2 separate regions of the Homo sapiens genome follow, and region 1 is linked to region 2. The links are contacts of gene promoters, found by promoter capture Hi-C in human tissues and cell types (Jung and others, 2019). All regions are on one chromosome and are shown on one strand. Each heading gives the region's core, a stretch centred on a gene start or on the middle of the fragment in contact. The rest is flanking DNA. Distances are from core to core; before and after follow the strand shown.

Region 1 (4,455 bases), core at 563-3,062, 49 kb after region 2:
TTTCAGCCGTGGAAATATTTTAGTGGTCCACATGTCTAATTTTATTTCCTGCAAAACTCTCCCCATATATTAGTTGCAAATTATCCCCCTAAATGAATTGTTGGTTTTAAGCCAGTTAATATTGGAGGACTGCTTCTCAAAATTATGGTTTTGATTTCAAACTGAAGCCATTCTTCTTGATACTAAATAGTTCCATCGAGTCACCAATTGTCTGTCAAACTAGTGAAACTAAAATCATATCATCTGGAGGTTACTCATCTCTCGATTTCTGTAGTGATTTTAAATCAGTAAGTTAAAAGTCAGAAAGAAAGGGAACCAAACATCTCTTTGTTTTACACACTGAAATGTTTTCTGATCCCCTGGAGATCATTCTTACTGCTCTTCCTTAAACTCTGGCATTTGGTGATAGACACAACATCAGCAGTATCTGGGCTCAGTATGGCCCACTGAGCCTGAATAGAGCTGAGTCAAGTGCACAGAATGGAAGACCAAGGAAAGGTCAACACAAGCTGCAAACTGTCCTGTGTTTTTCTGACCGATCTCCCATGGGGGCCTCAGGGGTGTCACAGCGGGAGAGTGCAATAACCTGGTCTAAGTATTTTGCTATTCATGGAGAATGTTAGTTAGCCTGAGAAACTGAGCCTTGAACTCAGTTTCTGACGGAAACTCATAGACATTATGTTTGGCACACAGTCATCTCAATTCGTTTTTTTCTTTTTCAAATAGGACAGACTCATGTAGGACCACGTCGGTAGAATTATCAAAAAATTGGCAAACAATTTACCTGCTTAGTCAGACTAGACCTTGAAATCTGTGGTGGCAGGAAGTCTCCATTGGGCTGATTTAATTGGAAGGGTTTTTTCGGGTTTTTTTTTTTTTTTTTTTTTTTTTTTTTATTGAGATGGTCTCACTCTGTCACCTAGGCTGGAGTGTGATGGTGTGATCATGGCTCACTGCAGCCTCAACGTCCTGGCCTCAGGTGATCCTCCCACCTCAGTCACCCGAGTAGCTGGGACTACAGGTGCCCACCACGCCTGGGGAATTTTTTGTATTTTTTGTAGAGCTGGGTTCTCACCCTGTTGCCCAGGTTGGTAATTGGAAGGTTTTAAACAGTCTCTGTATGTGAGAGTGAGCACATCTAGCCATCCAGTGAGGATAGGAGTCTCCATGCAACCGAATGTGATTTAATGTTGTTCCTCTCTAGGACTCATCTCTAAACTCCACTCACAGGTCAGAAAACTTTTCCAAGACCATGTCTCCACATTTTGAGTTTGAAAAAATGAGATCAGGGTCTTACAGATGTTTTGGGATTGTAGAAGATAAAGGGAGTAATATGGGTTTGGAAGACCCTGTTATTCATGACAATGCAGAAGGGACTAGAGCAATGCTTATGTTTTTGTGTCTGTGAAAAGGGGGCCTACTGGAAGGGAATAAAGTCAACAGATGCATAAGAGACCAAGATCTTCAGGCACATGGAAGCTTGTATTTATCCACTGTCTACAATTCCCAGTGTAAGCAGAGACCAGTGTACAGGCTAAGAAGTACTGAAACTTTCTTTGACTTAGGAAATTGAGCTGCATCTTGAAAAAAAAAAAAGAACAGTTAATTCAGTTTAAAAAGGAAAAGCAAAACCACCTAATGAACCAATTTCATATTTTCTGAAAGTAGGAAACTGCAGTAAAACTAGGATGTCAGGCATTCTCACATTCGATCCTGAACTAAATTAGCTTTCTAGTTGATTCATGTCTTTGGCTATGATATGCTAATTGCAGACCCTTTTTATATATTTATTAAAGTAGGATCTCACCTTTAGCAATTCATTATGATTTGGTTTTAAAAAATAACTCTATACTTGAAAGAATTAAAATGTATTTCCTCAGAAATATTCTATAAATCAGACTTCTCTATTTTAGTCAGATGGGCTTTTAATAATATGAATGTGAATTAGTGAGGCTTGATTTTAATTGCTTCATTTTCCTTATTCTGATGAATAACAGGATCCTATAGCTTTTCAATACAATAGCTGATAATAAAACCACCTCACCTGTTATTTATGAGTCATATTCTATTCTCCAGAGTGCCTTCAGCTAATGAGCAAACATCAGCTGTATCCCTGAAAGAATAATTGTTCTTATAGAAATAATTACTGATTGATAATTACTGACTTTTTTGAGATTGAAAGACCTGCTCTCTATTTTTCTTTTATGCTATACTCAACAGGAAAAGTCAGTTGGCGAGAGTACCAAGTATTTAATTACTCAAAATATTAATTTAATTAATTTCAAGTAATACATATTGAGTGTATAGTACTGCCTGTCAGGGGGACTTTGGTAAGATATGACCCACACACATGAAAAGTTACATGACAATAAAGTCAGGTTATCATTATGTGTCAAATGAACACTTAAGACAGTAGCTATTGTAGAATTCAAGAAGCGGAGGAGTCATAAGATCAGGAGTCACTGAAGGATTCATCATTGGGGGAGGCCTTTTTGAGGGCCTTTACTTGGGGTAGGATTTTTTTTTTAACTATACTTTAAGTTTTAGGGTACATGTGCACATTGTGCAGGTTAGTTACATATGTATACATGTGCCATGCTGGTGCGCTGCACCCACTAACTCGTCATCTAGCATTAGGTATATCTCCCAGTGCTATCCCTCCCCCCTCCCCCCACCCCACCACAGTCCCCAGAGTGTGATATTCCCCTTCCTGTGTCCATGTGATCTCATTGTTCAATTCCCACCAATGAGTGAGAATATGCGGTGTTTGGTTTTTTGTTCTTGCGATAGTTTACTGAGAATGATGATTTCCAATTTCATCCATGTCCCTACAAAGGACATGAACTCATCATTTTTTATGGCTGCATAGTATTCCATGGTGTATATGTGCCACATTTTCTTAATCCAGTCTATCATTGTTGGACATTTGGGTTGGTTCCAAGTCTTCACTATTGTGAATAATGCCGCAATAAACATACGTGTGCATGTGTCTTTATAGCAGCATGATTTATAGTCCTTTGGGTATATACCCAGTAATGGGGTGGCTGGGTCAAATGGTATTTCTAGTTCTAGATCCCTGAGGAATCGCCACACTGACTTCCACAATGGTTGAACTAGTTTACAGTCCCACCAACAGTGTAAAAGCGTTCCTATTTCTCCACATCCTCTCCAGCATTGGGGTAGGATTTTTAAGCAGGTGAGGAGAAGGGTAGAAAAATAGAGAGATGGTAGCAGTGGTACCTTGTGTAGCATAAGCAACCATAAAAGGAAATGACTGTGTTTGGAGGGGATCGTTAAGCAGTCTGCTTTGCTCTGCCAAACAAGGGGCTTATGCTCATCAACACTGTCAATGTCTTGAAGGACAAGGAAAGGCTGAAGAATTGATTCAGATGGAAGGAGACTAAGGCAGCATGACAACTAAATGCAAAGTGTGATTCTGGATTGGAGACTGGTTTGGAAAAAAAAATTTCTTTTCTTTCCTTCTTTCCTTCTCTCCTTCTCTCCTCTCCTTCTCTCCTTTCCTTCCTTCCTTCCTTCCTTCCTTCCTTCCTTCCTTCCTTCCTTCCTTTCTTTCCTCTTTCTTTTTTTTGGTGTGTGACAGATTCTCCGTCTCCCAGGCTGGAGTGCAGTGGCGCGATCTTGGCTCACTGCAACCTCCATCTCCTGGGTTCAAGTGGCTCTCATGCCTCAGCCTCCTGAGGAGCTGGGACTATAAGCGCGCACCTTCATGCCTGGCTAATTTTTGTATTTTTAGTAGAGATGGGTTTTTGCCATATTGGCCAGGCTGGTCTTGAACTCCTGGCCTCAAGTGATCTGCCTGCCTTGGCCTCCCAAAGTTTGGGATTATAGGCTTTTCCACTGTGCCCGGCTGGGAAAAACATGTCTATTTAAGACATTATTGGGAAAAATTTCTGAAATTTGAATATAGGTTGTACACTAGATGCCAGTATATCAGTGTTAAATTTCCTGAACTTCATAAAGGTATTGTGATTGTGTATCCCTAGGTGTTCTGTAGTAATGCACCACAAACCAGGGACCTTCAAAAAACAGAAATACATTCTCTTATAGCATCTGGGGCCAGCAGTCTGAAATGAAGGTGTTGGTGGGACCATGCTTCCCTTGACAGCTCTAGGGAAGTATTTCTTCGCCTCTTCCCCACTTCCAGTAGTTGTTGGCAATCCTTGGCATTCCTTGGCTGGCAACTGCCTCACTCCAGTCTTTGCCTGTGTTGTTTCCTGGTGTTCTTCTTGTGTGCCTGTGTCTTCACATGGCCTTATAAGGACGCCAGTCATTGAGTTTAGTCCCCAAGCACATGTGACAGCATCTTAACTAATTACATCTGCAACGATCCTATTTCCAAATAAGGTAACATTCTGAGGTTCCAGGTGAACATGAATTTTTGGGAGAACATTATTCAACCCCATCCAGATTATATATGAGACTCTCCTAGTTTTT
Region 2 (3,908 bases), core at 91-2,590:
GAAACACCGTCTCTACTAAAAATACAAAAATTAGCTGGGCGTGGTGGCGCGCGCCTGTAATCCCAGCTACTCAGGAGGCTGAGGCAGCAGAATCGCTTGAACCGGGAGCAGAGGTTGCAGTGAGCAGAGATGGCGCCACTGCACTGCAGCCTGGGCGACAGAGCGAGGCTCCATCTCAAAAAAACAAAACAGAAACAAAACAAAACAAAACAAAACAAAAAACCTGCTACAGGAGTGGGGAGGCCGACCTTTGAAGAAAAACGGAGTACCCGGTAACATTAGTGCTTTAATGCCTTTGAACTTATGCAGACTTCCTCTGTTAGAGGGTTTCAGTGTTCTAGGCTAATGGGTTAACCTGACATCTAGAACACCTTTCTCACATTAGTTCCTTACATACCCAAGCCTTCAGGTGCTGAGACATGATTCTTTTCACCCCGCTTTCTCCACCCCCTACTTTTGAAAACACGGGTGGAATTTTAATTAAAGCCTATTGTGTTGGTACCTCAGTAATATTATACATTAATATCTTTAAGAATTAAGGTCACGTCCCCATGTAAGAAAATATTATTTAATGACGCTTCTATATCATAATACCTATATAAAAGCCTGGCTATTTTAATAAAGAGACCACAGATTTCAGAATTTATAAACAGGAAAACATTTTCTTCGGGTTATTTCTGGAAATCTCTTCCAAACATCGGAGTTTTCTTCTAACTTAAGTCTCTTCCCACCTCCTTCCCAGGGGATCTGCTGAAGGGTGTTGTATGTCTCTCTGTGGGAGAGCAAACTTCACAGTTAGGATAAAACAAACAAACAAACAATATCCAAACAACACCCAGCAACGGCAACCCCCATCCCTCTCCAAAGTTCTAATTTCCCGCACTTAAAGTCCTGGGCTATCCTTGTGTTGCAAGGATCTTAGAATCGAAATGGAGGGATTTGACAACTTTACCTAACCAAATCTAAAATTTTGCTTTTATTATTTACTAGTTATCAAAATATGCAAACTGCTGATTAAGGAAGGCTGGGTAGCAGGAGCGCCTGCGAAGGCGTAGGGTAGAAGTGTGAAAAGAAATCCCAGCTCTCCCAGGGAGACTGCGTGTGAAAGAGCCCGGCTCCCCCAAAAGCTCCAGGCCGCGTTTTGCAGGCTTCCGCATCTGCCTCCCCTGTCTCTCTTACCTCCTTGATGTTCGGCACTATTTGTGGCCGGCGTGGTGGAAGGACACAGTGAGGTTCTCACCCCCGCCCCCCGCTCCTCGCTCCCATCCCAGTTCCATCAAAACGAACCCGGGCCAGCGCAAGGATCTCCGAGTTGCGAGTGTGCTGAGGCTGGGACTGTCACTCATTCTCCGATCAGCGCGTGAACGCAGCTCGGCTGCCGCTGGCAGGAAACAATTCTGCAAAAATAATCATACTCAGCCTGGCAATTGTCTGCCCCTAGGTCTGTCGCTCAGCCGCCGTCCACACTCGCTGCAGGGGGGGGGGCACAGAATTTACCGCGGCAAGAACATCCCTCCCAGCCAGCAGATTACAATGCTGCAAACTAAGGATCTCATCTGGACTTTGTTTTTCCTGGGAACTGCAGGTACATTTTTTTTTTTTTTAATTCTCAATCTGGTTTGCTAATTACCCCTTCCTCCTACTCCTAGGAGGAACGCTATTATTTTGGGTGGTTTTACGTGGACTGCTAAGGCTGGTCATTTTCGTTTAGCTGTGAAAGGAGCGCGTCGCCCTTGCTGCCCAGCCGAACCCCGCTCCCTCCAGGGCTGCGCTGCACGGGGCTGCCTCCCCGAGCCGCCAGCGCCCGGCGCCCCTCCGGCGCGTCCGCCCTTCCCACTTTGTGCGCCCGCGGCGGTGGGAGCAGAGCCGGCCGGCTCCTGGGGACTCAGCGGCCGCGCTGGTGATGGGCAGCGCTCCTTCCCCAAAGGCGGGCGGCGGGGCGGGGGAGGTCGCGGCTCGGGTGGTGCCGCCGCACGGGCTCGGATTCCGAGGGGGAAGTGGCTTGTCAGCCCCGGCTCCGGGAAGAGTGAACAATAAGGCTAGGGCAGCCGCCCCAGATCGTTATATTCCTGGGTCTAATAAAGTCAGGATCGCTGCTTTGCTTCCCCCGCCCCAGAAGAATAACGGTTTGCAAAATGGGGCAAAATGGGCAGAATCGCACGGCCGTTGTTGTTGGTGTGACCGTTGTTGCACCCCAGTCGACATGACGTTAGTTTTTCATTTGCCAAATTGCTGGTTAGTTGCAAAGCCTACCCTCGGCCGCGAGCACTGAAGGATGGGAGGGTCGAGCGCCGCGTTTTGACAGGAGGAAGTGCGGAGGGGCGGAGGGCGAGGAGGGCGTGATTGGGGCTGCCTGGTGTGTGCGCGCGCGTGTGCGCGCGTGTGTCTTTACACGCGCCGCGTGCCCAGTGTTGCACGGGGCGGGAGAAGAATGGCAGGTAGCCGCCCGAAACACCTCGCCCTGTCTCCTTTCTTTGGGCGAGGTTCCCGATCCTGGCAAAGTGTGAACAATAGGGAGCTGGGAGGAAGACAGTAGTGATGCTGCCGCGGGTGGCGGGGGTTGCGCCGCCGCCCAGAGAACCTCGGCAGTGTGCAGGGAGGTGCATTTCATTTTGGCTATTTCCATCCCGGCCTCCCTGGAAAATTCTTCTGTGCGTGCCCACCCTCCCCTCCAGCTGTCATCCCCCCACCTCCACCCAAGGATTTGCGCTTTGGCTCTGATGGACGGGAGGGAAGGAAGAAAAGCAGGGGCCGCAGAGAGCTGGGTGGGTTGGGCGGACATTCTGGGCGGGGGGCGTGTGCTGGGAAGCGATCGAGGAAAGCCGGGCGGAGGGGCTGTGTGTCGCGGTCGCAGCTCCAGGTACCGTTGTACCTGCCCTGGACGGCCGACCCCCGGTTGGGGAGCGCACGGGGCGGGCCAGGGAGCACCCAGTGCGCCCCCTCCGCGGGCGGCACAAGAGCAGCGCTCGGCCGCCGCCTCCAGCCAACTCGGGTCCCTCCCACGGCGACCAATCAGTGCGAAGCTGGCTGGGCGGGAAGCCGCGAGAGGCTTTTATTGCGGCGCGGGTGGCGGCCAGGAGCTGCCAGGACAGTCTCCCGGTGCTTCAGCCTAACGGTCTCGCTCACTCACCGCCAAGAGAAACCCCGCCCTGCGGCCGGTCCCCCGCCTGCCCGGCAGTTTCCGAGGAAATAAAATGGAGACTAGGTGGTCACCGGGAGTGCTCCTGGTCCGGCCGCCCGTGCTCGCCCACTCTCGCCTCTTTCACGCCGACTTGGAGCATCCCACCGCCCCCGCCAGCGCTCACTCTCGCGCCGCGGAATCCGGGCCTGAGCGCGTCGCCGGGGAGGGCATCCTGGCAGGCACACCTACGCGCGTGCGCTGACCGGCCGACCGCGGGCCGGGGGCTCTACTGACGGCGGGGCGGGGCCGTGGCAGGGCCCGGAGAGGAGGGGTGGGGACCAAGCCTAGTCCGCCTGGCCCTGGGTCTCCGCTGCCACCTGGGCGGGGGCCACCCCGGTTATGCCCCTTTCCGCGGTGCCCGTGGGTGCCGCGACGCGACCTGTCCACATGGGGCGGGGGAAGGGGGGTGTTTTTGAGACATCCTCGCCCCCGGGTGGGAGCGTGACAATGGAGCCCGGATATTTGGTGGGCCTTTTGGGGGATCGCCTGGCGGTCCTTTCCATCATCGTGATGGGTACAGTCATCAGTATTTGGATCCCGTGGAAGTTGCAGGCCCAGGAATTCCCACTGGGATGTTCCTGGATGCCCAGGCAGGGGAGGCATTCTAACCAGTGTTCCCTGGAATGAAAGCGACCTCTTTCCTGGCCCGGTACCTTGAGGATGGGAAGAAGGCAGAACGTGAAACACATACAAGGTTGCTTAACAAAAGAAAGAAGTTGAATGGTTT

What was found. The method cuts DNA at HindIII sites, captures the fragments that hold promoters and counts their contacts. A contact is called where the count stands out against the background at its distance.
Region 1: a contact is called between a fragment that was not itself captured here and the fragment with the promoter of NCAM1 in region 2, in 2 of the 25 tissues and cell types used here (hippocampus and liver).

What each region holds. Positions count from the first base shown.
Region 1 is chr11:113,008,447-113,012,901 of GRCh38, forward strand. The region is part of intron 1 of NCAM1 (neural cell adhesion molecule 1); the gene reads left to right. Among named protein-coding and RNA genes, the nearest start is that of NCAM1-AS2, 47 kb to the left of the region's middle. The HindIII fragment of the contact is 7,126 bases long and covers 1-4,455 here.
Region 2 is chr11:112,960,080-112,963,987 of GRCh38, forward strand. It overlaps NCAM1 (neural cell adhesion molecule 1), which reads left to right and starts at 1,341. Exons shown (of 20, transcript NM_181351.5): 1 at 1,341-1,585. The coding sequence starts at 1,534. NCAM1-AS2 (NCAM1 antisense RNA 2) reads right to left here and starts at 3,381. Exons shown (of 3, transcript NR_120563.1): 1 at 3,131-3,381; 2 at 1,288-1,397; 3 at 1-772. RefSeq lists an enhancer at 1,284-2,061. The HindIII fragment of the contact is 9,849 bases long and covers 1-3,908 here.